Linked DNA regions of Homo sapiens: all the other regions are linked to region 2. The links are contacts of gene promoters, found by promoter capture Hi-C in human tissues and cell types (Jung and others, 2019). All regions are on one chromosome and are shown on one strand. The core of a region is centred on a gene start or on the middle of the fragment in contact, and the rest is flanking DNA. Distances in the headings are between cores, read along the strand shown. Region 1 holds the start of WDR7-OT1 (WDR7 overlapping transcript 1). Region 2 holds the start of BOD1L2 (biorientation of chromosomes in cell division 1 like 2). Region 3 overlaps LINC-ROR (long intergenic non-protein coding RNA, regulator of reprogramming). Region 4 has its middle 79 kb from the start of LINC02565.

Region 1 (6,274 bases), core at 601-3,100, 110 kb after region 2:
AATGTCTTTTTTTGAGAAGTGCCAGACCACACTTTGAATGGTATGGCTGTAGCTCAGGAGTCAGTCACCAGTGTGGACTGAAAGTTTGTGTCCCCTCAAAATACATACATTAAAACCTAATCACCAAAGCAACAGTATTGGGAGATGGGAACATTGGGAGTTGATTAGGCCATGAGGGCAGAGCCCTAGTAAATGAGATTAGTGCCCTCATAAAAGAGGCCCCAGAGAGCTCCCTCACCCCTTCCACCATGTGAGGCCACAGCAGGAAGATGCATTCTGTGACCAGGAACTGGGCCCTCACCAGACACTGAACCTGCCCATGCCTTGATCTTGGACTCCCCAGCTTCCACAACTGTAAGGAATAAAGTTCTGTTGTTTATAAGCCACCCAGCTTATGGCAGTTTGCTATAGCAGCCAAAATGGACTAAGACAGCCACCTTGTCTGCTGAAGGGCCAGATAGTAAATATTTTAGGCTTTGTGGGCTAAGAGGCAAAATTGAGAATATTGCACAGAGAGAAAACAAATTTCCACACATTTTTTCTTGATGAAATTCAAAATATAATAATTGAATACATTTTTTTTTGGTAATTTTAGGAGTTCAGTAAGGGGAAAATCACCCTAAGCAGGTTTTCAACATGAGGAATGTAGACTCTACCCTTTTCTACCCAGACTCTTCTTTGTTATCTAATACCATATTTTACAAACAGCAAGAAATATAAGCCCCAGGAAGTGAAACAACAAGAATTGTTTCCAGTGCATTTCTGAGCCGGCAATGAAGCTTAGCCTTTGTCTTCAAGAAATAGATCCAATGTGACAGACACTGCAGCTTTGTATTTTTTGACTAAGTTATTAACCAATACATTTGAAGTAATTCAGCCTTCTACTCACCCTGTGGCTTGTCATGTGGGATGGTGTTCTGAGGGTTAACGTAAATACAGTTCGTAGAGGTGCGTCTCACTCCTGGAGCTGGTGTTCCTGACTGAGGGACTGCAAGTCTGAATAGTGTAAATGGAATCTGACTTCCCCACGGCAGCAATGCTATAATGTGGGATTATGTGAATGGGAATTTTCTGTGGAAGGATCCTACCTGCGAAGGGAACAGTAGCAGTGAAGGAATCAAGGTGTGAACATGGATGATGTTTTCCAAGAATGTGAGTATTCTGGACTGGCAAATGCCATTGGTCCCCCATCTCTCGCACTGGGGAACCCTGGGCTTCTGCCTCCTTCCTGACATTTCACTCACCAACTCCTCTAACTCCTGCCTCTTACATGTCCCTTGGCCCTTCCTTTTGGTGTCCATCACACCTGCAATAGTTTGAGTTCTCAGAATCTCTAGATGTGCAGCCATCCCTGGCCTCCCTGTCACAACGATCTCCATTTTCTAAACTATGATGCATCCTGCCACCAGGTTTAGCCAAGATATGGGATCATTGTTGCCCTGAAAATCATTGAGAACTCTCCAGACCTCTCAGGAAACAGCCTAGCTCCGTGTCACTGGCTACAAAGATCTTCATGCTGGCTTCAGCTCATGAGTTTGAATCACTTCATGCCATGTCACTGTACACTGTACAGTCTGTTTTCAAGGGTTGGCTGCAAGGGGCTCAGCCAGTGGGGAAGATGATTATATCATATGACAGGAGAAAGAGGTGGGTGTCTGCAGGGCTGGCTCCTCTAGAAGCCCAGTGATGTCACTGAGGATTTACCCCAGTAAGTTGGCTTGAGCCAAGGTGGGTTCCAACATAGGCCCAAAATGGCTTGTGGGTTCCCAGGTATCACAGATTCACACAGCTATGTCCACAGATAGAAACTTCTACGTGAATGTCTCTTTTCACTGGGGAGGAAAACCTTTCCCAAGAGCACCCCCCTCCCACCTCATGGGCCAGAATGGCACTGAAGGCCTTACTTATACCACTAGGCACTGCATGAGCTTGCTGGCTTGAATTAATCAAGCTTCCATTTCCAAGGCTGATAAACTCCAGCCTGAGCACATGGTCATTGGTGCAAAGAACAGAGCCAAGCCCAGGCTTAGAAGCATGGAATAAAGGGGAACATGGCTCTGGGTAAGGGACTGGCTACATCTGCTGCTCCCTGAAAACATCACCTGCCTTCACAGTTCCATGCCTTCAGTCACGTCTCCCCTTTGTCTGAATGTTCTTCCACCCTGGGAAACTCCTATTCATCTTTCAAGATTCAGCCATAATGCCACCACCGCTGCAGTGTGACTGTGTTGGGAAACTCCAAGTGGCAGAGAGCTGCAGGAAGCCTCTAGGCTCCAGCCAACAGCCTGCAAGGGCCTCCAGTGACAGCCAGCGAGAAAGTGAGGCCCCCAGTCCTACAAGCAGAAGAAATTGAATTCTGCCAACAATGACATGAACTTTGAAGCAAATTCTCTCCCTCACAAGCCTCAGATGGGACCATAGACCCAGCCAGCACCTTGATTGCAGCCTGTGAGAGATCTTGAGGCCAAGGCTCCTGGCTAAGCCTAGGCTGGATGCCTGGTTCCGAGAAGCTGTAATGCCATAAATATGTGTGTGTGTGCATGCGCGTGTGTGCATGCGCATGTGTGCATGCAAGTGTGTGTGTGCGTGTGTGTGTGTACGTGTGTGTGTGTGTGTTTTGAGACAGAGTCTCACTCTGTCGCCTAGGCTGGAGTGCAGTGGTGCCATCTTCGTTCACTGCAACCTCCGCCTCCCAGGTTCAAGTGATTCTCCTGCCTCAGCCTCCCAAGTAGGTAGGATTATGGGTGTGTACCACCACACTCAGCTAATTTTTGTATTTTTAGTAGAGATGGGGTCTCACCATATTGGCCAGGCTAGTCTTGAACTCCTGACCTCAAGTGATCTGCCTGCCTCAGCCTCTCAAGGTGCTGGGATTACAAGCATGAGCCACTGCACCCGGGCAAATGTGTTTTAAGAAGTTTGTGCTAATATTGTTACTGTATAGATAATTAACAAACCCCGTTTCCCCCAACCCACTCCAACCCATTCTCCACATTGCAGCTGAGTGGTGTTTTCTAGCTAAATTAAATCACACCTTTCAACTCACAATTTTTGGATGGTTTTTGAGTCCCCTAAGAGTGCCCTTGACCATTGTCTACAGGATTCAATACTGTCCAGATGCCTCACTTGTGGCCACACCTGGCTCATTACCTGCTGTCACTCTCCCTTCTGCCTCAGGGACCTCACACGTGCTATTTTCTTCTCTAGAAGCTCTTCCCGCTTCCAACTGCTCCACCAACATCCAGCTCCTTATCTTCCTTCAGAGACCCCGGGTTGACCTTGCCCACTCCTTCCCTGGGCTATTGGGTCTCAGCTGCCCTTGTTTCCGTCACTGCTCATGTTACAATTTGTGGCTGGCTTAGTCCCCACCCCAGCCCACTAGACTGTGAGCCCATAAGGGCAGGTGTCACAACTGTTGCCTTCCCCACTACAATCCCAGCACCTAGTTCTCTGCCTGATGCATGGTAGATGTTCACTAGATATTTACCAGATGAATGAATGGGCTTAATTCTCATCGGAATCTACCAGAATGTATATGTTCCAGTGAATGTTTATCTTAATGTCTCCTGACTCTACAGTCAGAGGAGACATTCCCAAGGCTGATGCTCATTTCTTTTCTCTGTCCCCTCCTCCTTTGTGCTCCCATTGTATGCTTCAGGCTTGAATCACATGTCCTGGGGAGGAAGGCTGTGGACTAGAGCTGGAAGAGGAAAAAAAAGGAATGAAATCAGGGATGGATGGAGCTCAGGTGGCTGGGATCCAGGGAGGGACGGCTGAAGAAGGAAGCACTGAAGGAAGCAGACAGAGGCCTGGGATGCCAGGGAGGTGACCCAGAACCCAGTGCCTGTGTGCATAGTGCGTGTATCTGGCTATGCACAACCATTGAGGATTGCTCCAAGTTAAACCATCAGAAGGAGGGGCTGCGGGCGTGTGTACACTATGGATAATGGGCCTCACAACATCCAGCGCATTAGCTAGATAGCCTTTGAGATGCATAAAGGATGTGAGTGCCTGCACTGTATTAATTTCACCGTTGCTAGAAATGCCTGGAAAATAATAGGCATTCAATAAGTCACTGTGGAATAAATAAATGAAGATTGAATTTTGAGGTCCTTGGTTTTTTATTGAGGTCAATATGAGAATAAAGCATGTCTCTTTCGCTACTATAAAGCTGGCCTTGATGATAGCGTCCATTGATGGAGAGGAAAGAGCACTTTGGATTTTAATCCCAACTCTACCACTTTACTAGCTGTGTGACCTTAGGCCAGTTACTTAACCTGTCAGTGTATCAGTTTTCTAACCTATACAATGTGGGCTAATTCAGAATTATTGAGAGACTTAAGTGAAATTACATATGTCAAATGCCTCACATGGGCTCCAAGCACATCTGGATCCTCAATCCCTTCACTTGTTAGAAAAGAGACCTGAGATGTGTGTCACAGCCTGGAGCCTGCTGCAGGGCCAAAGCTGAGGCTAATGGATGTGAGTATGGTGGCATATTATGGTTTGCTCTAGTAGGTTCTGATATATTCCAATATTTCCCAGAACGAGATCATCAGGGATGGGGAGCCAAGACTATGTAAACCCGATATGTGACAATAGAGACTGGAACAGCCCCTGTCCTGTCAGGGGATGCTCTTTGCTGATTCTGGCCAAGTGGAGAGAGTATGTCTTGTAATACTTCTCTGTTCAAGTCACCTGGGAGGCAAACCATTTTTTTAATCTTAAGTTTCGGAAGTCTGTTTTATATGTATCAGTGACTCTCAAGTTATTAAAGATTGCCTCTCTGGAGAAGAATATCTAGAGGAAGAGGAGGTGTCTGCAAAAGCAAACGGGAGAAGTCAGAAAGTTGTGGCCCCATGAAGGCAAGGAGAGCGGGCAGTGCCAGGGACTGGCCAGCAGCACTAAATGCTACTGCGTAATCAATGAAAACCAGGGCCAATTGCTGTCAATCAACTTCCACTTTCCCAAAGAAAGTATCCATTGTCTACAAGAAAACAAACAAACAAACAAACAAAAAACTGGTTGCTGAGTTGTAAAATCACTAATTTGTGAATAGTCCTGCTATTCACAAATGAGAATCAACATAGTTCCAGTACTTGTAAAATTTGGCACAATGGCCATACATCCAAAGGGAAAACACAGGGGCTTACATGAACCAAAAACCTCTTCTATTCTCCCCACACTTCCTCCTGCTTCTAAAGACTGTGGCCGGATAGTCCCTGGCGATTCCCTCCTCATCTCCTGTTCCACGAGGGCCACTGGAAACACAGAGGAAACTGGGCCTTGGCAACAGAGTCTGGGACTCAAAAATATTAGATTTCCCTTTTATTTTTGGTGCAATCTTGGTCATTTGTCTATGTGACCTGCAGTTATTTTCATTTCTAAAAGGGAGCTAATTCTTGGCTTTCAGAATGAAGAATTAAGAAAAATAATGAATGCACCTACTATGGTACCTGGTGCACAATAAGTCCTCAGAAATATTAGTTCCCTTCCAGCTTTCCTCTTTACTTTTTAAAACTGAGCATTTGGATTTGGTTGAAGAAAGAAAAAAAAAAAAACAGGAAAAGAGTTCATGGTAAAGCTTATTTTCCTGTAACACAGAAGCAGGAAATTAAGACCTGAAAAATCTCATAATTTAAGAAGACAAGAAGAGTTAGGATAGTGGCATTCACTGAATGTTTACAATGATCTAAGTGCGCTGCATATATTAACTCTTTTCTCTTTTCATTCTTACAAGAAGACTATGAGGCAGGCATGATCATCACTCCCATTTTCCAGGCAAGGACACCAGGGACATGGAGATGTGAGTGGTATACAAAGGGAGTTATCTGGCTAATAAGTGGCAGAGCCATACTTGAACCTAGGTGGGTTCATCTGGGAAGGAGACTCTGAGACAGATTTGCTGAAAGCGGGTGTATTAGGAAGTGTTCCTGGGATCAACATCTGTGTGAAGGAAGCAATACATAGGCAGGGGGGAGCTGGACTGTGATGTGGTTGCAACAGAGTTCTCTGACAAATGCGCTGGGAGCTATGAAGCTGGAATGGCCCTTCAGAGATGTTCCAAACTGAAGCAAAGAGGGTTGAGTCCTTTTATCCCCATGATGGGTTATTGGGTGTAGCTCTCATTAGGGAGGAGGATGTGGCCTTGAGGAGAGTGGCTCTCTTTAGCCTCAAGCAATTCCTGTAGCAGGTCTCAGTTGGGAAATATCAGCTGCCGACAACCCAGTACCTGGGGGAGTGAATGCATACCACAGTGTCCCCTGCCTTCACC
Region 2 (5,741 bases), core at 918-3,417:
TTAAGTGGGGATGACAGATCTGTAAGCAAAGACAGTTCACTGTGGTGAGGTGGTGTGGCTAAAAGCATGGTTAAAAGGGTTAAAAGTGAGGGCTCTGTGCTCAATACAGGCTCAGCCCCAGCCCCACCACTTAGGCAGTGTCTGAGCTTTGGTTTCTACATTTATAAATGGGAATAAAAATGGGAATAAAGATACGATTTCTTCAATTAGATCATGAGGACTTACTACGGTAAGCGAAGTTAAGCGTTTAGTACACTGCCAGCTGTAGAGCAATAGAGCAAGTGCTTCGTCAGACCTAGCTACTATAGTAAGTGTGGTCATCCCTTATGAGATCTATGGGAGCACAGAGGAAGGAGTCTGTCACTCCTGCTTAGACGATGTGTGGCTCCTCAGGAGCTGAGTCTTAAAGGAGGGTAGGAGTGGTTGAGGGCATTCCCTTCACAGTGAGCAGAGGGAACACAGGGTGTCCAGGATAGTCATGGGCATGGTTGTCATATGAGAAATGACAGTGTACGGGGCAGCAGAGGTGACCAGGGGCCCCATTATCACGGGCCTCATAAACCATGCCAGGTGTCTGACCTTCTAGAAATATCAGAAAACTGACGGAGCTTAAAGAGGAAAAGGATGTAAATCTGCATTTCTTTTTTGTTGTTGCAGTTGAAAGATAAGCCATTTATTGACCATCCACTTTTCAAATAAAACACAAATGTGAGCATAACATAAACACACCCAAGACTCACTAGCCCCTGCAAGACAGGAAGCATTCTTGGACAGAGAGTCTGCAAATGAGTTTCCTTATACCTAATGTCTGAACTTCTCACTCATTCTAGGGTTTCATGCTTTGTTATCTCTTACAAAGGAAAGGAAACTGGCTAGAAGATTCATGTACAAGAAGGTCACAACTTCAAAGCTATCTGACACTAATGTTGTGTACAATCTAGTTTGCAACTCTGAGAGACAATATCAAATAAGTACTGTCAAATATTCCTCCCAGTTAACCTTTACTGTCATTGTTCTTTGAAATTGTCTTTGGGATTGGTTATGTTCTCTCGCTGTAGCTTTCGTTTATCTCAGAGCACAAACCCTAAAATCCATGTGCAGTCTCCATGTTCAAGTATAGATGTCTGTTTCAGGACAATCCTGGGTCGCGGTAGTGTTTCCCTCTCTGTAGTGTGTGTTTGGTGTCATGCCCTTGGAAAGGCTGGCCAAATGGCAGCGCAATGCAGGAGGGTGCCACGGTCAACTTTCTCTCTGGCGAACTTGCTTCCCTTTCAATCTGGTCACTGCTCATGGTCGAGGTGGAAATCTTGAGCTCAGTGATGAACTTGGCTTATCTTCAATCTGAAACTGCACTCTTATGTAACCGAATCCATTTCTTCACCAAAAATTAAATAGCGCTTTCAAAAGCTGTCAGGCATATTCTTAGGAAGTGTCCTGAGACGGAGCTGGAGGGTCCTGGCCTTCTGGCTCTGGAGGGAGTGCTGGCACAGCTGCTTCTTTCTGGGCCACCAGGAATTCATGAATTATTTGTTCTATTTGTGGCCTGAAGATGTGGTTTAGTTTTGGATCCACCACCTGAGAACTAATCCTGTCCACTCCAGCTTCTGACCTCCCTGACTGAACCACACTCTGCCTCAGACCATCGTGCAGTTGGTTGTCGTTTGCTGGAGGATTCCATTCCTGCTTGTCCAGATGTGTCGACACAAAATTATCCGCTTTCTGGCTCAGGTTTTGGTAAGCTGGCTTGGTGTCCACGTCAGCCTTGCAGTCCCGGCGGAAGCTGTCAAAAAGGCCCCTGCTCTTGAGCTGCCCCACGATGATAGCGATGAGCTGAGGGTCGCCAGGGGGCAACGAGGCCGGGTTGATGGGGCCGCCGCCCCCGCTGGCCCGGGTCGAGGCCGGGCCCGCACCGCCGCTGCCGCCGCCGCCACCGTCCGCCATGGCTGCGCACCGGGCCCACAAGGAAACCGATTATAGCTTCTTCTCCAGGACAGAAAGCCTAGAATGTGTAGAGGTGGCTAAGGGGGCGGTGAAGGAGGAGGGCCCCAAGGAGGCAGCGGCGGAGGTGACGGTGGTGGTGATGGCGGCGGGGCCGGTGGTTGGGGCGGCGGTGGGGGAGGCCAGCTCCAGACCGCGGAGGTTGTGGAAGACGCGGCAGCAACCGCCTGCTGGATTCCAAGCGCGCTCCAGATGGCGTCACCGTTGACCTTTGCATTGTGAGGCGGGAACCGTAATCTGCATTTCTTAAAAGATCTCTAAGAGGGAGGTGGGAAACAAATGCCAGTGGGCAAGGGCGAAACAGGGAGACAATTTCAGCAACCATTTCAGTGCCCTAAGAAGGAGATGGCGAGGAGTGAATGATCTTCGTGGCCTGGCAGGTGAAGAAGGTAACAGGGATACAAGAGATATTTAGGAGATAGACTCATCCCAGGGATTGGAGAACAACGGGGTGAGGGACGAGGGAAAGGAGAGGGTCAAGGATGACCCCCAGGCTTCTCACTTGGGCAGGTGCATGGAGGTGCCATTTACTAAATGGAGAACAGGTATAGAGGTGAGGATGGGAGACAGAGACATGATCGTGCATTCCATTTTTATTTACTAGTTTAAGATGGGTATGGGTTATTCAGATGCAGACATCTGCCTATGAAGTCCAAAGATACAAGGACTAGGGGCTGGGGAGAGACATCTAACTCACTGAAGGTAGAGACTATAGGTGGCAATTACAATGGAGAACTTAGAAGAGATAGAGGAACACCTGGAGAGCCCATGAGGGGGACTGAGAACAACACTAAAAAGATGGAGGGAAAACTACAAAAGCCTTGGATCATAGACCGCAAAAGGTACATTTCATGAAGGCCATGGGTGAAATGCCACACTATGTTCCACAAGGTGTCCATTGGCTTTGGTAGCCATTGATGAGCCTAGGGCAGATGTGTCAGTCAGAAGGAGGTCATTTCAACAAGAGAACTGTATTGCAACCAAGAGCCACAAAAGGCAACCACATCCAGCGCCATCCAATAGAGAAGTGCAGGTGCACAGAAAGAACCTTCTATCAATATTTCAAAAGAAAAGCAGATCCCTGATTTCACCCCAACACTCACTTCCCTGAATTAAAATGCCCCTGAGATGTAGACACCACATTGTTCTATAAGCCGTAACATAGCTTAAAGGTAGTATATTTCACAAAGAAAGTTTACACAACAGACTCTGTCAATAACCTCACCCCATAGCTTCTGACATACAAGTACAGATGCCTCAGATGGACGTATTCTGAATCTCATCCCACAGGAGACAGTGAACCTACCAAGACTTCACCACAGCAACCCCCTACCTATGCTCCTCACCATCCCCATGATCAGCTCGACAATTCAGTTCTGTATTTTTTTAAATTAATCAATATTTATTGAGGGACTAGTCGATGTGGCCCTGTGCTAAGCTTTATGGAGCTCTCCACGTGCCTGGCCCAGTCTAACACTCAATAAATGTTTGCTGTGGCTGTTGTTTAAGACAGGCAACATGGCCAGCCTTTGAAAAGCTTACAATCTAGTTGGAGAGGGGAGATGTTGACAGAGAAAACCATTGAGGACATACACAAGCTCCATGGGAACTTAGATGCAACATGCACACCTAGCATGGTGCCTGGAACAAAAGAGAGGCACCATTAATATTTGCAGAATAAAGATTGCATAGATGAAAGGAGGGTGTCCCTGTCATGTGTTGGAGAACACTGAAGCCTGGGAGAACGTGGCAGATGGAAGAAGACTTTGCAGAAGTGCTGGAGCCTGAACTGAGTCTTCATTTATCCCCTCACTGTGCATGAGCCCTTCAGATTGCACAGGAGTTCTCTTAGAATGCAATCACCTATGTGGATCCAAGATGAGATCTATGGGGTTCTCCAATCACAGCCTCACCCACAGAGGGACACTTACCTAAGCTTTTGAAAGTGATGATAATAACAATCATATTGCAGTGTTCCATTCTGTACTGAAAAATGTTCACTGTCAAACACCTTTTCTCCACATCCTCCCCAAGTCTTAAATAGTGTGCTGGCATGGTTTTTCTGAATAGCTGACTTGTGTATTATTTGTAATCATAAACATTAAGTTACCATAATTATCCCATCACCTTGGATCAGGGTTTAGGGCACAGGACAGTTCTCACCTCTCACCGAGGCTTCAAACCACTGCTCCCGGTTGCCTGGCAAACTATAAGGCCACTAGAGTAACTTCCCTGACCTCTAGCTGACCTGCAGGGATCAATGAACAATTAATTACTATCATCCCACTCCGGGAGAGATAGCACACTGCCATTTCTCAATTACAACTGGAAGTGCCCCTTGGCTGACAGCTGCCTGTCGGACAAGGCAAGCCCCATGCTGATTCAAACCAGTGCCTCCCACCGCAACTACACACACAGATACACACAGGCACATGCCATCTAACTCAGACCACATCCATTCCCCCACCACACCCACCCACAATCACACAGATCACACCATCTTCCCACCCACTAATCCCACACCCGCAATCACACTAGTGTCAGACTCTGAAATGTAGATACCAGAGTGTTCTATGATCCTTAGCATAACTCAGAGATTGTATATTTCACCAAGAAAATATTACAGACTCTGTCAATAATCTCATATCATAGCTTCTAACATGCAAGGATGCCTAGGAGGGATGACATTCTGAATATTACCTGGTAGGAAACAGTCAATAGTCTTTATCAGTATCAATTTTCCTCATGTATTACATAGGCACCTAGACCAGTATTGTTCAAGGGTAGGGATGACCCTTGCCTTTATGACTCAGGAAGACTTTGTCTTTGCTATACTTCTTGTGACATCTCTACAGGTAAAACTTTTGGTGTTTTCTACCTTCATCTCTTCCTACATCTTTAGTGTCCCCTCCACCCCCATCCTAACGCTCTGTGTTCTGTTTCCTTCCCAGTCACCTTGACCACATCACTTATACCTTTCTTAGCTCCTCCCCAAATACCAAAGCACTTTCTGCATATTCACTCCTTTCCAGCCCACTTCTCTCCACTTCTGATAAAGGAAAAAACTGGACTAATCAACTCAAATTGAAATGTTTCTGGCTGCTGACAGCTTCAGCTACCACTCCTGGAGTTAATCCTAAAATTCAGAAGAGTAAATATACTGGAACCTCAGAGGTTCCAGTTCTGCTTGAAGGTGGGAGTGGGCTACTTTTGCTCATAGAGGCTCGGAGAATCCTCATATCTCACTATGTGTGTATGTTTCCTGCTTTATTTCTACAATCAATGATCTAAACACTGGTTATTCCATTGGAAAGATCCACAAATGCATTAGGCAAGTCTTTTGATTGCACACAACAGAAACCCAGCTTAAAAAAGGAGGGGGGATATATGGGCTCACTTAAAGACACAAAGGTCTCTCTGGCTCAGGCATAGTGGGATCCAGGTACTTGAACACAATAATCAGAACTTGATCTCTGGTTTCCTCCTGACTGGCTCTCCTCCCAGGCTGGATGTCTTAACAGGGCTCTCCGAGCAGCTGCAGGTGTGCATCACCCATAGTCAGCAACTGCCACTGACAGGAGAGCTGCTAGTTCTGAGAAAGAGAAATTCCAACAGAAGTCTCAAGATCATATCTCTTGGTCTACCTTGGATCAGTCCTCATCCTCGAACCAATCTTATTGGCCAGAGGCATGGAAGACTAAACTAGAGAAAATTCCTCTCCTTTCCCAGCTCCTGACCTCTAC
Region 3 (5,826 bases), core at 1,162-3,661, 83 kb after region 2:
TCCTCTATGCAGTTACCCCATCAGTCCCCATTACAACCTCTGACGGCTGCCGCCCTAGCTGGATCCCTAGGAGTCTGGGTACAAGACACCCCTTTCAGCACTCCTCACCTTTTTACTTTACATCTCCAGTTTTGCCTTGCACAAGGTCTCTTCTTCCTCTGTGGATCCTCTACCTACATGTGTCTACCTGCTAATTGGACAGGCACATGCACACTAGTTTTCCTTACCCCCAAAATTCAATTTGCAAATGGGACCGAAGAGCTCCCTGTTCCCCTCATGACACCGACATGACAAAAAAGAGTTATTCCACTAATTCCCTTGATGGTTGGTTTAGGACTTTCTGCCTCCACTATTGCTCTCGGTACTGGAATAGCAGGCATTTCAACCTCTGTCACGACCTTCCGTAGCCTGTCTAATGACTTCTCTGCTAGCATCACAGACATATCACAAACTTTATCAGTCCTCCAGGCCCAAGTTGACTCTTTAGCTGCAGTTGTCCTCCAAAACTGCCGAGGCCTTGACTTACTCACTGTTGAAAAAGGAGGATTCTGTATATTCTTAAATGAAGAGTGTTGTTTTTACCTAAATCAATCTGGCCTGGTGTATGACAACATAAAAAAACTCAAGGATAGAGCCCAAAAACTTGCCAACCAAGCAAGTAATTACACTGAATCCCCTTGGGCACTCTCTAATTGGATGTCCTGGGTCCTCCCAATTCTTAGTTCTTTAATACCCATTTTTCTCCTTCTTTTATTCGGACCTCGTATCTTCCATTTAGTTTCTCAATTCATCCAAAACCGTATCCAGGCCATCACCAATCATTCTATATGACAAATGTTTCTTCTAACAACCCCACAATATCACCCCTTACCACAAGATCTCCCTTCAGCTTAATCTCTCCCACTCTAGGTTCCCATGCCGCCCCAATCCCGCTCGAAGCAGCCCTGAGAAACATCGCCCATTCTCTCTCTCCACACCACCCCCCAAAAATTTTCGCTGCCCCAACACTTCAACACTATTTTGTTTCATTTTTCTTATTAATATAAGAAGGCAGGAATGTCAGGCCTCTGAGCCCAAGCCAAGCCATCGCATCCCCTGTGACTTGCACGCATATGCCCAGATGGCCTGAAGTAACTGAAGAATCACAAAAGAAGTGAAAATGCCCTGCCCCGCCTTAACTGATGACATTCCACCACAAAAGAAGTGTAAATGGCCGGTCCTTCCCTTAAGTGATGACATTACCTTGTGAAAGTCCTTTTCCTGGCTCATCCTGGCTCAAAAAGCACCCCCACTGAGCCCTTGCGACCCCCCACTCCTGCCCACCAGAGAACAAACCCCCTTTGACTGTAATTTTCCTTTACCTGCCCAAATCTTATAAAACAGCCCCACCCCTATCTCCCTTCGCTGACTGTCTTTTTGGACTCAGCCCGCCTGCACCCAGGTGAAATAAACAGCCATGTTGCTCACACAAAGCCTGTTTGGTGGTCTCTTCACACGGACGCGCATGAAAGGCTTTCCCTAATGTCAAAGATTTGGAGGAAAATCACCCAAGATGGCTCCAAGAACCACACACATCCAAGCAAGCCAACTGGAAGTGCAGACACCCCTGCAGACACGACCGTGTCCTCATCTGTGTTCCAGTCATTGGGACTACGAGAGCTCTCAGGAAGATGAACAAGAAACAACATCTAAATAAGTAATAGTGGTAGGGCAATTGGAGCCTCCTCATTCTCCAGCTTCCTCCCCCAGAGCTCATCGCCTGACCCCCAACTTTCCCCATTTTCCAAGTCAGTGCACTTGGTGGGGGCCCATCAGGCCAGTGCTCCCTGATCACATCCCGTCGTTGCTTGGCCAGGGAACTGTTGTCAATTTAGAGAAGGTGGAATTCATTTCTTTACATTCACATCCGATCTTATCAAAGGGGCTGCCATGAGGGGCAGAGCTGCTGGTTTTGTTCTTTCAGCTTCCTCTCTCCCCCTTCCCCCACTCTGTGGGTCTCTCTCCCTCTCCCCCTTAGCCTCCAAGCCTGAGTCAGAGATCTCCTCTCTGAAGTTAATGGCTGTAAGAAGATTTCATTTTATTATATCTTCAACAGTCCTGTTATTTTAAATTTGCCTTTGACAAACTCAGAGCCCTGGAATCACCATTTAGGAAACAAAGCTTAACCGGGAGCTTTTAAGAAGGGTATTTTCCCTTCCATTTTAGCAGGCTAGTAAAAATCAATAATGCTGTGTTCCCATCTGTAGACCACCTGACATCTCATGAATGGTCAATGGAGCCTGCTCTGACTGCAGAAGCCACTGAGAGATGCACTGGCCAGCCTGGCATGCAAGCTGGACACTCGCCTTGCCTTTCTGCCAATTTCAGGGCTTCACTCACCCCAGAAGGTGCTCCTGGGTGCCTTCCTTGGGAGGAAGGCTGGGTTTTTCCTGACAGAGTTTACAGTGGCCAAATTGAGGATGGGAAAATTGTGGGATGGGGAAGAGAGATGTTATCTGAGCTCAGAGATGATCAAACCCTTTGTCCCCCAAAGGATTCGTTAAATAGGACAAGCCTAGGATGGGGATTTGGAGGGTATTATTCCAGTGCAATTAGCCATGAGCTCCAGGAGGCAAGAAGCTGTCAATTGGTCCTCACTGATGCCAAAAGGTTTGGGACCCCAAACCCTGCCCGGATGCTTGTCAACCCCTTGATAGGCTGAAGCAGGGGCAACAGCAAAACTCAGCCCTGGTGCAGGACACAACGCCCTCTGCCTCCATGTGTGCCCCAAGGCATGCGCTTCTCCCACTGCCCAGAGGCATCTAAATGTGTCCTTGCAGGACAGCCAGTGTGGCCTTTCCCACAGCACATGTACAGAAACAAATGTGACTTCCAAACAATGGAGCCAAAATTTAGAAGCCACTGTGACTGCAGGACCCATGAGAAACAGGACTCCGTGGAAAACAGCCAAGACAAGGCAGGGAACCATGAAACAGCCAACCCCCCTCGCACCACCCTGAGGCCTTTTCAAAGACACAGACTGAAACATATTGTCACTCCTAAGCCAAGTTTAACTTCTAAAGAAATCTTTTCAAGATGTTCAAAGCGCCAAATGCAGTTTAGCTCTAAGCACTACCATCTGCCACTGCAGGCAAGCCCATCCCGTAATCCCTGGCTCGGGCAGAGGCCCGCGGAGCAGGGTTGCCTGCTGTGCCCACTGGAGAATGCACATTGGGTAGCGAGTGACAAAGGGCCCGCTGGGGCTCTGCCGGCTCCTGGGCAGCGGCACATGGGGTGCAGCAGGGTGTGGAAGCAGTTGAGGAGACAGCACATCTGTGCAGACATAGCACACCTGGGCTGAAGCCAGGTCTCAAAGTGACACCCAGAGCCCCTGTAGTCATTGTGAGTAGGGAGGGAAAACTCAAGGTCCACTAGCGAAGCTTGGAATTCCTTTGCCTCTAGAATCTCAGGTGCAAATAAATGGACACATATTTGATTTCCAAATGGAAACTCATCTTGCATTGGTTTTTGTTTCTCTCTTTTTTTTTCTGTTTATTTTTTTCTGTTCTGGAAAATGCCATCATGAGTTGGCATGAAATTAAACAGCTGCCCATTTTAATGGGAGAACTAATACTCTTTGTGAGCTATGCCTCATCCACCATCTCAACTCCAACTTTGTATATCCTGAGTGCAGGAAATTCAAGACAGGCCAGAAGGTCTGTTACACTGCGGCCAGGAGCACAGCACTGGCACATCACAGAGACTCAGAGCCAGAGAAGGAAGAGATGCAGGGGCCAGGGCCCCTCTCAGTGGAGGGTGAAGGGGCTCAGGGGTGAACTCAGGGTTAAGGGAGATCGGGGAGGCCCAAAGGATCAGAGTGGAGTGGAAGGAGGCGAAGTTAGCCAGGAAACAAGATGACCACGAGGACCTCAGATGTGCCCTCATCCTCTGAAATCCCCTGGAGCCCTCAGACCCAGAAACAGGAGATTGGCTTGGTTTGGGGTTGGGGTTTCGTTTTTATTTTCTCTGGTGCCTGACCGGAGTCTGGGTGATAGCCTTTAAAACACCTTGAAATCTGTAGCCACCACTTCAGCCAAACGCCCAGCCCGCCATGAAAGCATCTAGAAGCACAGCGAAATGGCGCACAAGGAGGCTCCAAATTCTTCCTCCCTTCACCTTTCCCTTTCCTGCAGGCCCCCTTGCACCCACTCCATCCCTGACCCTGCTCAGGGTTAGTAAACCTGGGGCTCTAGGTGGTGGCCCCAGCAGGCCCAGCTCCCTGGGGGCCATGTGTCCATCTGTGAACTGTGCAAAGGGCCTGTGGGGAACATACTGCTCCCATGGGCTGGGGAGAAATTTCTGGGAGTGTGTTTCTTGTCCCAACAATTGGTAGAGGAGATACCAGTGGCATTTAGAGGATGAAGACTGGAACCGCTGAAGATCCAGACCCCTGAGTTCCAATCACAGTTCTAGCACTGATTGGCTGTGTAAACTTCTCTGGCCTCAGTTTCCTCATCTGTAAAATGGCAATAATAACCATGCCTACCTCCCAAGATTGTTGTGCACATGCTGTGAATCAACCTTTACAAAGCCCCTAGAACAAGGCCTAAAACTTACAAATATCAGTGATCATTTTCCTGAAATCTAAGGGACAGAATAAATAATCGTCCCGTGCTCTATGTGACTTTCAGATGTTCCACTAAACATTGGAATAGATTGAAAAACATCTTTATAGTGATCTGAGCTTGAAATGTAACTCTTTTTCATATATAAACATAAAAAATTTAAAAGGTTTTAACATACAACGGGTCTTCCAGGATTGCAATCACTATATTGGATCGGACACAGCATATTCATCTCCTCAGATTCTCTTCGCTGCACCTTGCCACCTGGGCTTTCAGCTTTCTGCTCCACCTGAGTCTCAACAAGGCATCCTCATTCCACCACCTAAGCCCCACCAGCCATGTGCCCTTGTGCCGTGAATCTCAGAATGCTTCTGTTGCTTCTAGCATCACATAACAGGCCACGCTCAAGGAGGTGTGATCTGGCTTCCTGCTCAGTTGCCAAGGGACCAGATAACATAACCCAGAAGTACAGGAGAGTCAATTCCCCATGGAATGAACTTTGGCCATTGGGTATCAGGATTCCCACTTTCTTCCTTCTCCCTGGGGACTGTTCTAAAGTTTGATTTCTCTGTACAAGCTGGCTGGGGACTTCCCGTGTGGCCGAGCGTACACACCCTCCTCACAGCATGTCTTGAAGCAGCGGCTGTCCAGCAGCGCATAAGTTTGTGTGGCTTTCCACCTTCACTGCCACGCTTCCTTGTCTTTCATGCTTGCTGCCCTGGGATTGTACCTCCTAGAGAAAGCATCACCACTTTACCCCAGCCTCATGCTGCATTCCAGGAAACGGGCTCACATTTCTCTACAGAGGGGAGCTTGCACTGTGTCTTTACCGAGAGTTGTTTGCCATTTCAGAAAAATCACAAAATCAGTCAGGTGCAGCGGCTCACACCTGTAATCCCAGCACTTTGAGAGGCTGAGGTGGGTGGATCACTTGAGGTCAGGAGTTCGAGACCAGCCTGGCCAAAATGATGAAACCCCATCTCTACCAAAAATACAAAAATCAGCTGGTCATGGTGGTGCCTGTCTGTAATCCCAGCTACTTGGAAGGCTGAGGCAGGAGAAACGCTTGAACCCGGGAGGCAGAGGTTGCAGAGAGCCGAGATCACACCACTGCACTCCAGCCTGGGCAACAGAGTGAGACTCCCTCTCAAAGAAAAAAAAAAAAGAAAAATCACGTAATCAACAGCAACAACACTTAAGGTATTGAAGTCACAAATACAAT
Region 4 (6,130 bases), core at 1,867-4,366, 100 kb before region 2:
AGATGCAGAAGATAGAGCCCGCGCTGGACTTGGTGCTCATGAGAGTCATAGCCAAGGTCTCCTCTTGGAAGCCATGCTGAAGTAATTGGGGCAACTTCTCTCTCAGGCTGAGTAAAAGTGCAGATCACTTCCCCATTGGAGTCATGGCTTCGGTGACAACAATGGCAGCCTGTCTTCATGGAGGGAGAGGTGGGCTGCAGACACATCGCCCCTGGCACTGTCTCCAGGGGGATGGGAACTGGGTCCCTTGGAGATTCCTGGAACAGAATGCTGAGTGATACTTTGCTGTGGCATCAGAAACAGCAACTAGGACCCACAGGTGAAGACAAGGGCTGTAAAAGGACTTTCAAATAAGCAAGTGTCTGGGGGCCCCGCTGGCTCACCAAGAGATGGCTCAACAACTCTGCTGCCCATATCCCCATCCCAGAGCTATCTCCTCAAACTCCCTTCCCTCAGTCTACATGAGGAAACTACTGAGCAGGGAGAGGCAGAGGAGAGAGAGGAACTAGCAGGGATTTGGAGTTTATTGATCCAGTGGACTGCTGTGATTCCCTCCTCCACGTGAGAGATAGAGAGGGATGGGGCTTTCAGAGAATCCCTCATGGAGATCGGCAATGCCTACAGGAAGGGGAGGCCAACATCTCATTTTCTCATTGCTCATGCTGAAGCCATAGACTCACTGATCTTCCTGAGTATAGCTGAGGAGGGGAGAAAAGGCTTGGAGAGAGACAGCAGGTGGGCAGAGAGAGAAGGCAGCAGCGCGGTGCCCTGAACCCCCATGGTTTGGTGAGGAAAGGGGCATGAGTTGCATATGAGCTGAGCAGACTTGATGGGAGATAGCCGGGCTTGAGTTCTTTACCAGCTCAAAACAGGAGCTGGCAGTGTGGGTGCCCAGATCAGAGACCCACTTTGCCCAACCCAGAACTCCCTCCATGATTTCCACATGTGCCCAACAAGAGGCCTATCACACAGGGGGTGTAATTAGAGAGTCAGTGTCAGTAAAGAGAAGACCCTGAGGTGGAAGGATTGCTTGAGGCCAGGAGTTCAAGACCAGCCTTGGTATCATAGGGAAACCCTGTCTGCATAAGATTAATTTAAAAAATTAGCTGAGTGTGGTGGTGTGTGCCTGTAATCCTAGCTATTCAGGAGGCTGAGGTGGGAGGATCACTTGAGTCCAGGAGTTGGAGGCTGCAGTGAGCTGTGATTGTGCCACTGCACTCCAACCTGGGTGACAGAGTGAGACCCTGTCTCTAAAAAGAAAACAAAGGAGAAACAGAGAGAGAAAAAGAGAAAGAGAGAGAAGACCATGAACCATGACAACTCCAGGTAAGTGAGACACATTTTTCTCTGCCCTAACAGCTAAAGTAGGGGGAGGAAAAATAAATAATTGTGTAATCCCCTCCCATCCAAGTCCAAAATACCCAGGGGAGGAGAGAGTATGAGTGTTAAATTGGATAGAACATTGACCTGGATTAGTATGGAGTAGATAAGTCTTTTCCAGTGAAAGAAATCAGGGGGCTACCCTGGGTTAGCTGTAAGGGAGTGACGGAGGCCGGTGGGCAGGGCTGGGCAGAGGGAGGGCTTGGGCTATGGCGCAGTTCCACTGATGAACTTGCAGGGTGAATGATGTCCTCCAAAATTCATATGTTAAAGTCCTAGCCCCCAGTACCTCAGAATGTGACCTTATTTGGAAATAGAGATGTTGCAGCTGTCATTATTAGGATCAGGTCATACCAGGGTAGGGTGGGCCCCTAATCTGACATGAGTGGCATCCTTATAAAAGAACACCGTGTGAAGATTGGAGTTATGCTGCTATAAGTTGATGAGCTACCAAAAGCCAGAAGCCAGGGAGGCTGGGAACACATCCTTCCCTAGCACCTTCAAAGGGAGGGAGGCCCTCTTGACACCTTAATTGCAGACTTCTGTCCCCCAGAACTGTGAGACAATACCTTTATGTTGTTCTAAGTCACCCAGATAGTGGCACTTTCTTATGGCAGCCCAGGAAACCAATATGACCAGTCCCATGAGGAGCTCTGAGGGGGCTGGACTGACCCTTTGGGGTGTCTCAGTTGAGTCCAGGGGTCTGTGAAATTCCTCACTGGCCAGTCGTTGGATGTGGACTGCTCCTTACATTCGAGGGGCATAAGCTGGGAGGCAGCTCCCTCTGATCGAGGCTTCTTTCTGGGGAGCTGCTCAACTGTGAGCCATCAGCAGCCAACACTCCCTGCCAAGATTGAGCCTAGGCTGCAAGAAGTGAGGCATCACCCCAGATGCAAAACTTCAGATGGTGCCACATCTAGCAATCAAGATTAATAATAGTTTGATGCAAAGTTATATAAAAATTAATGCAACCATCCATGATGAATAAACATCTTTCAAAATTTTAAGTAAAACAGGAGCAGTAGTACTAATGTTTCCCTTTGCTGTGGGCTGTAATATGGCTTGGCATGGCATCCCCTGAAGCTGGGGATAGGAGTGCCTTGAGCTTGAAGGGGACAGCTGAGTGGCACACCACAATGTTCACTACACCCAGGAAGAAAGCAAGCCTGGTTTAGGACCTAGGCAGTATGATCCCACAGCCTGAATGCTTAACCACTGCCCTCTACTACCTGGAAGCATCTAGAGGAGGTATTTTAAGGGAAAGAAATGATGGAAAGAACAGAGGCACACACTCAGGAAAAGCGGGAAAGCTCGTAAAGAGTGTTGCGGCACAAAATCAGATTTACTTGTTGCTCTGTGAAATGTCAATGCCTACTTGCTTGGGAGGCAAGCAGCTGGGAGCTGGGTCACAGCGTTCTGGCATCTGTTCTACGGGCATGTAGACCCTTCTAGACTCAGCTCAGGAGAGGTGAGTGTCTGCCTTGGCCACTGAGGAGGTTACGGTGCTGCCATTGGCACAGTGAAATGAAGGTCATGATGTCAAGGACAAGAGTGTTGGGCTGTTCCTCTCTTGCCATCAATCCAGGCTTTTGAGTGATGTAGGGCTCCCGCCTGGACATGTTCCCAGCTGCTTAAATGACAAATCCGGTAGGTTTTATGTCCTCAGTGCTGGGTTTTTGAACTTGAGTCCGATAGGCTCCAGACTGGGATGGATGGATGGACGATCTCTTCACATTGACCCCTACCCTTCATCCCAAAGGCGGCCTCCCCAAGGCCACCTGAGTAATTCACTCCTCTCCTTCCAGGCCTTGATTTCTGCTCCTCCCCCATCCACTGACAGAACCTAAAACAAGAGACAACCCTCCCTTGCTGAACTGTTATAAATTCCCAGCTTAGCAGATTTCAGGCTGATTGCCTGGGCTCAGTTGTCTCTGTAAATGAGGCTTCTCACTCATGATGGATGGCCCCGCTCTCTCTGAGCACACATTTTACCTGACTGGAAGCACCATGGCTAACTATTTAACAATATTGTTTCTCAGCCAACTTCTTTGGATGGCATTGTCCCTGGGTTGATAATTTCTAATCAATAAAAATTGTCAGCAGGAACTAGGAACCCGCCTCACGGTGAATGACAGAGGATATGTCTTGGTTTTGAGCTCTGAGGGCCCCTTGCCTTCTGAATAAACATAACACCAAAGGTTATTCTGTGTTCTTCTCCGTCAAGCTTAAATTTAGCAAAATTAGGATATGAATTTTCCTTTATTCTCTGTGATCACAAATGTAATGTCAGAATTTTTTCCCAGAGAGCTTTTCACCCCACCTCTACTCCATGTCAAGGTTGTCAAAACCATAATTTATTCATATTTTTGACCTCCGGGGAGGACAATATCCAAAGGGTCAGGGAGTATTATTGGATGTCAGGATGGAAATTCACCGTGCTGGCTCCCTTTACAATGTTACATTTAATCAAGCCACACAAATGTGGCCGCTGTAATTACCCCTGAAGGGTTACCCCTCCTTATTAGGAATTACACAATTTTTATGCATTTCCCAACATCCTTAGTGTGGGAAACAGTTGGAGCCTGCTTGGTTTTCTTTGTAAGGAAGCAGAGGTCTGTGATTTCTGCCCCTCTTCTTGGGTCACGACGGTGACCTCCCACGAGCTGCTTTGAGGCCAGGACAGGGGTGAGGGGTCATGGAGCATCCTGCAGTGGGCTGGGCCATCTCCTTTGTGTGGCCCTTTGCCAGGCCACTCTGAGATCTGGCTTATCCTTGAAGGGCTCACGATGCAGCGCTTTTACCCAGAATGTCAAAGCCCAGACAACTCCTGAAGCTTAATGATTTTCTGAGAACTGTGCAGAGAGACCTGGGTTTAGGGGGAGGAACAATTAATCAATGCTAAATAATAACAATAGTTATTCTCTGATTCATGAATGGAATAAATCCTTCATCCCTGGCCCATAACAGATACAGTCCAGGCATGCACGGCAAAGCCTGTGAGCTCGTTAGAATTCTTGCCAAGCCGCATCTTGCACGTCTTCTAAAGCGTCCTGTTTTCCCGGTCATTTTAAACCACTTTAAAAAAGCTTTCATAAATGCCACAGTATTTTGATTGGTTTGTCCCCATCCTCCTTGAGGCAGCCTGTAGATAAGGTACTGGATCAATTCAGGCAGTGGGTAAGAATTAGGCTAAGGGCTTTGGAGCCAGGCAGACCTGTGTGTATACACTGGGTCCCATCACTTTCCTTCTATATAACTTTAATTGCATCACTTAACCTCACTGAGCCTCAATTTCCTGCTTTGCAAAATGAGGCCAGTCATTGTGCCTACCCCTGAGACTGCTGAGATGATGTAATATACTGAATATGAATTGAGGTGGGGAACATTTTATTTTCTTCGAAGTTGTTACAAGAGAGAGCCTCTGATGTGAAAAGAACACCTTGATTAGCTCACTTGGGGTTCAGCCCCCAGGGCCTGGGAATCAACTGTATCCATGCTTCAGAGGCAGACAGAGGCTGCACACAAAGTCTTATATGTCTTACATATGTATCAGTATAGGTCATTTGTATTGTGAGTTTATTTTTAAATTCAAATGCACCTGCTAAAGTTTCTGGCAGCTGAGGAGGGAGAAGCCACTCTCCCTGTTGCTTCCCATCTAGAGAGCACAGCAACAGTCTCTCCTGCACTGCCCTGTGCTTGCAATGCCCTCCCCTTATCCCGGCAGGTCTGAACCCCGCCGACCCTTCCAGGTCCATCTCAGATGCTGTTTCTCCATAAAGATTTATGTAATCCTACAGTGAGAGGGTGCCTCTCAGTTCGGCACACACACTGTAGCTGAAGCTGTCCTCTACTGTGGCACTTGCCACTTTTGAAGAGCACCCTGGCTGCACAGTGGGCCTGTGACATTCACAAGGAGTGTGCCCATGCCCAGGATCTTTGCCAGGGACTATGGCCATGCTGACCCCTCGATTTTGGACTTCTGGACTTAAGAACTGTGAGAAAATAAATTCCTGTTGTTTTAAGCCAGCCAGTTTGTGGTACTTTGTTACAGCAGCCACAGGAAACTAGGACAGCTGGTTCATGCTGAGATTGTGTGGTGACAGCCATACTTCCAGGGACTCTACCTGCTGGCCAGGGAGGATTCTTTGGGCGGCACTATGGCTGTGAGGGTGTAGAGGAAGTGCAGGCCAAGATGGAATCACTGCAATAACCAATTATCCCTAAGGAAGCAGTTTTCGGCCGGGCTTAGTGGCTCACGCCTGTAATCCCAGCACTTTGGGAGGCCGAGGCGGGCGGATCATGAGGTCAGGAAATCGAGACCATCCTGGCTAACATGGTGAAACCCCGTCTCTACTAAAAGTACAAAAAATTAGCCAGGCGTGGTGGCGGCCGCCTGTAGTCCCAGCTACTCAGGAGGCTGAGGCAAGAGAATGGTGTGAACCCAGGAGGCAGAGCTTGCAGTGAGCAGAGATCGCGCCACTGCACTCCAGCCTGGGCAACAGTGCAAGACTCCGTCTCAAAAAAAAAAAAAAAAGGCAGTTTTCACTGTGCTTCCTTGCATCCTGCGGCCATGCTGGGCGCAGGCTCAGAGCTGGGATATGAAACTTCTGCCCCCAGCTCTGCCACTCACCTTGGTCAAGTCATCTTCTCTCTGCTGTAAAATAGGGACACACTTCCTTGGAATTTTTCCTTCACTTGTAAAGCTTGGCATAATCTCTCCAACTAGATGGACGTCTTTGAAGTGAAGAAA

The links. The method cuts DNA at HindIII sites, captures the fragments that hold promoters and counts their contacts. A contact is called where the count stands out against the background at its distance.
Region 1: a contact is called between a fragment that was not itself captured here and the fragment with the promoter of BOD1L2 in region 2, in 3 of the 25 tissues and cell types used here (neural progenitor cells, pancreas and thymus).
Region 3: a fragment that was not itself captured here is called in contact with the fragment with the promoter of BOD1L2 in region 2 in 6 of the 25 tissues and cell types used here (H1 embryonic stem cells, aorta, hippocampus and 3 more).
Region 4: a contact is called between a fragment that was not itself captured here and the fragment with the promoter of BOD1L2 in region 2, in 8 of the 25 tissues and cell types used here (H1 embryonic stem cells, IMR-90 fibroblasts, adrenal gland and 5 more).

What each region holds. Positions count from the first base shown.
Region 1 is chr18:57,036,234-57,042,507 of GRCh38, reverse strand. WDR7-OT1 (WDR7 overlapping transcript 1) reads right to left here and starts at 2,529. Exons shown (of 3, transcript XR_001753461.2): 1 at 890-2,529. It also overlaps a transcript of WDR7 not described here. The HindIII fragment of the contact is 3,837 bases long and covers 1-3,768 here.
Region 2 is chr18:57,143,513-57,149,253 of GRCh38, reverse strand. It overlaps BOD1L2 (biorientation of chromosomes in cell division 1 like 2), which reads right to left and starts at 2,167. Exons shown (of 1, transcript NM_001257964.2): 1 at 1-2,167. The coding sequence starts at 1,941. The coding sequence ends at 1,423. RefSeq lists an enhancer at 1,403-1,998. The HindIII fragment of the contact is 20,182 bases long and covers 1-3,735 here.
Region 3 is chr18:57,060,331-57,066,156 of GRCh38, reverse strand. All of the region lies in intron 2 of LINC-ROR (long intergenic non-protein coding RNA, regulator of reprogramming), which reads left to right. Among named protein-coding and RNA genes, the nearest start is that of LINC-ROR, 8.9 kb to the left of the region's middle. RefSeq lists enhancers at 944-1,479, 3,578-4,467. The HindIII fragment of the contact is 5,495 bases long and covers 1-5,158 here.
Region 4 is chr18:57,247,223-57,253,352 of GRCh38, reverse strand. No RefSeq gene overlaps it. Among named protein-coding and RNA genes, the nearest start is that of LINC02565, 79 kb to the right of the region's middle. The HindIII fragment of the contact is 7,453 bases long and covers 1-6,130 here.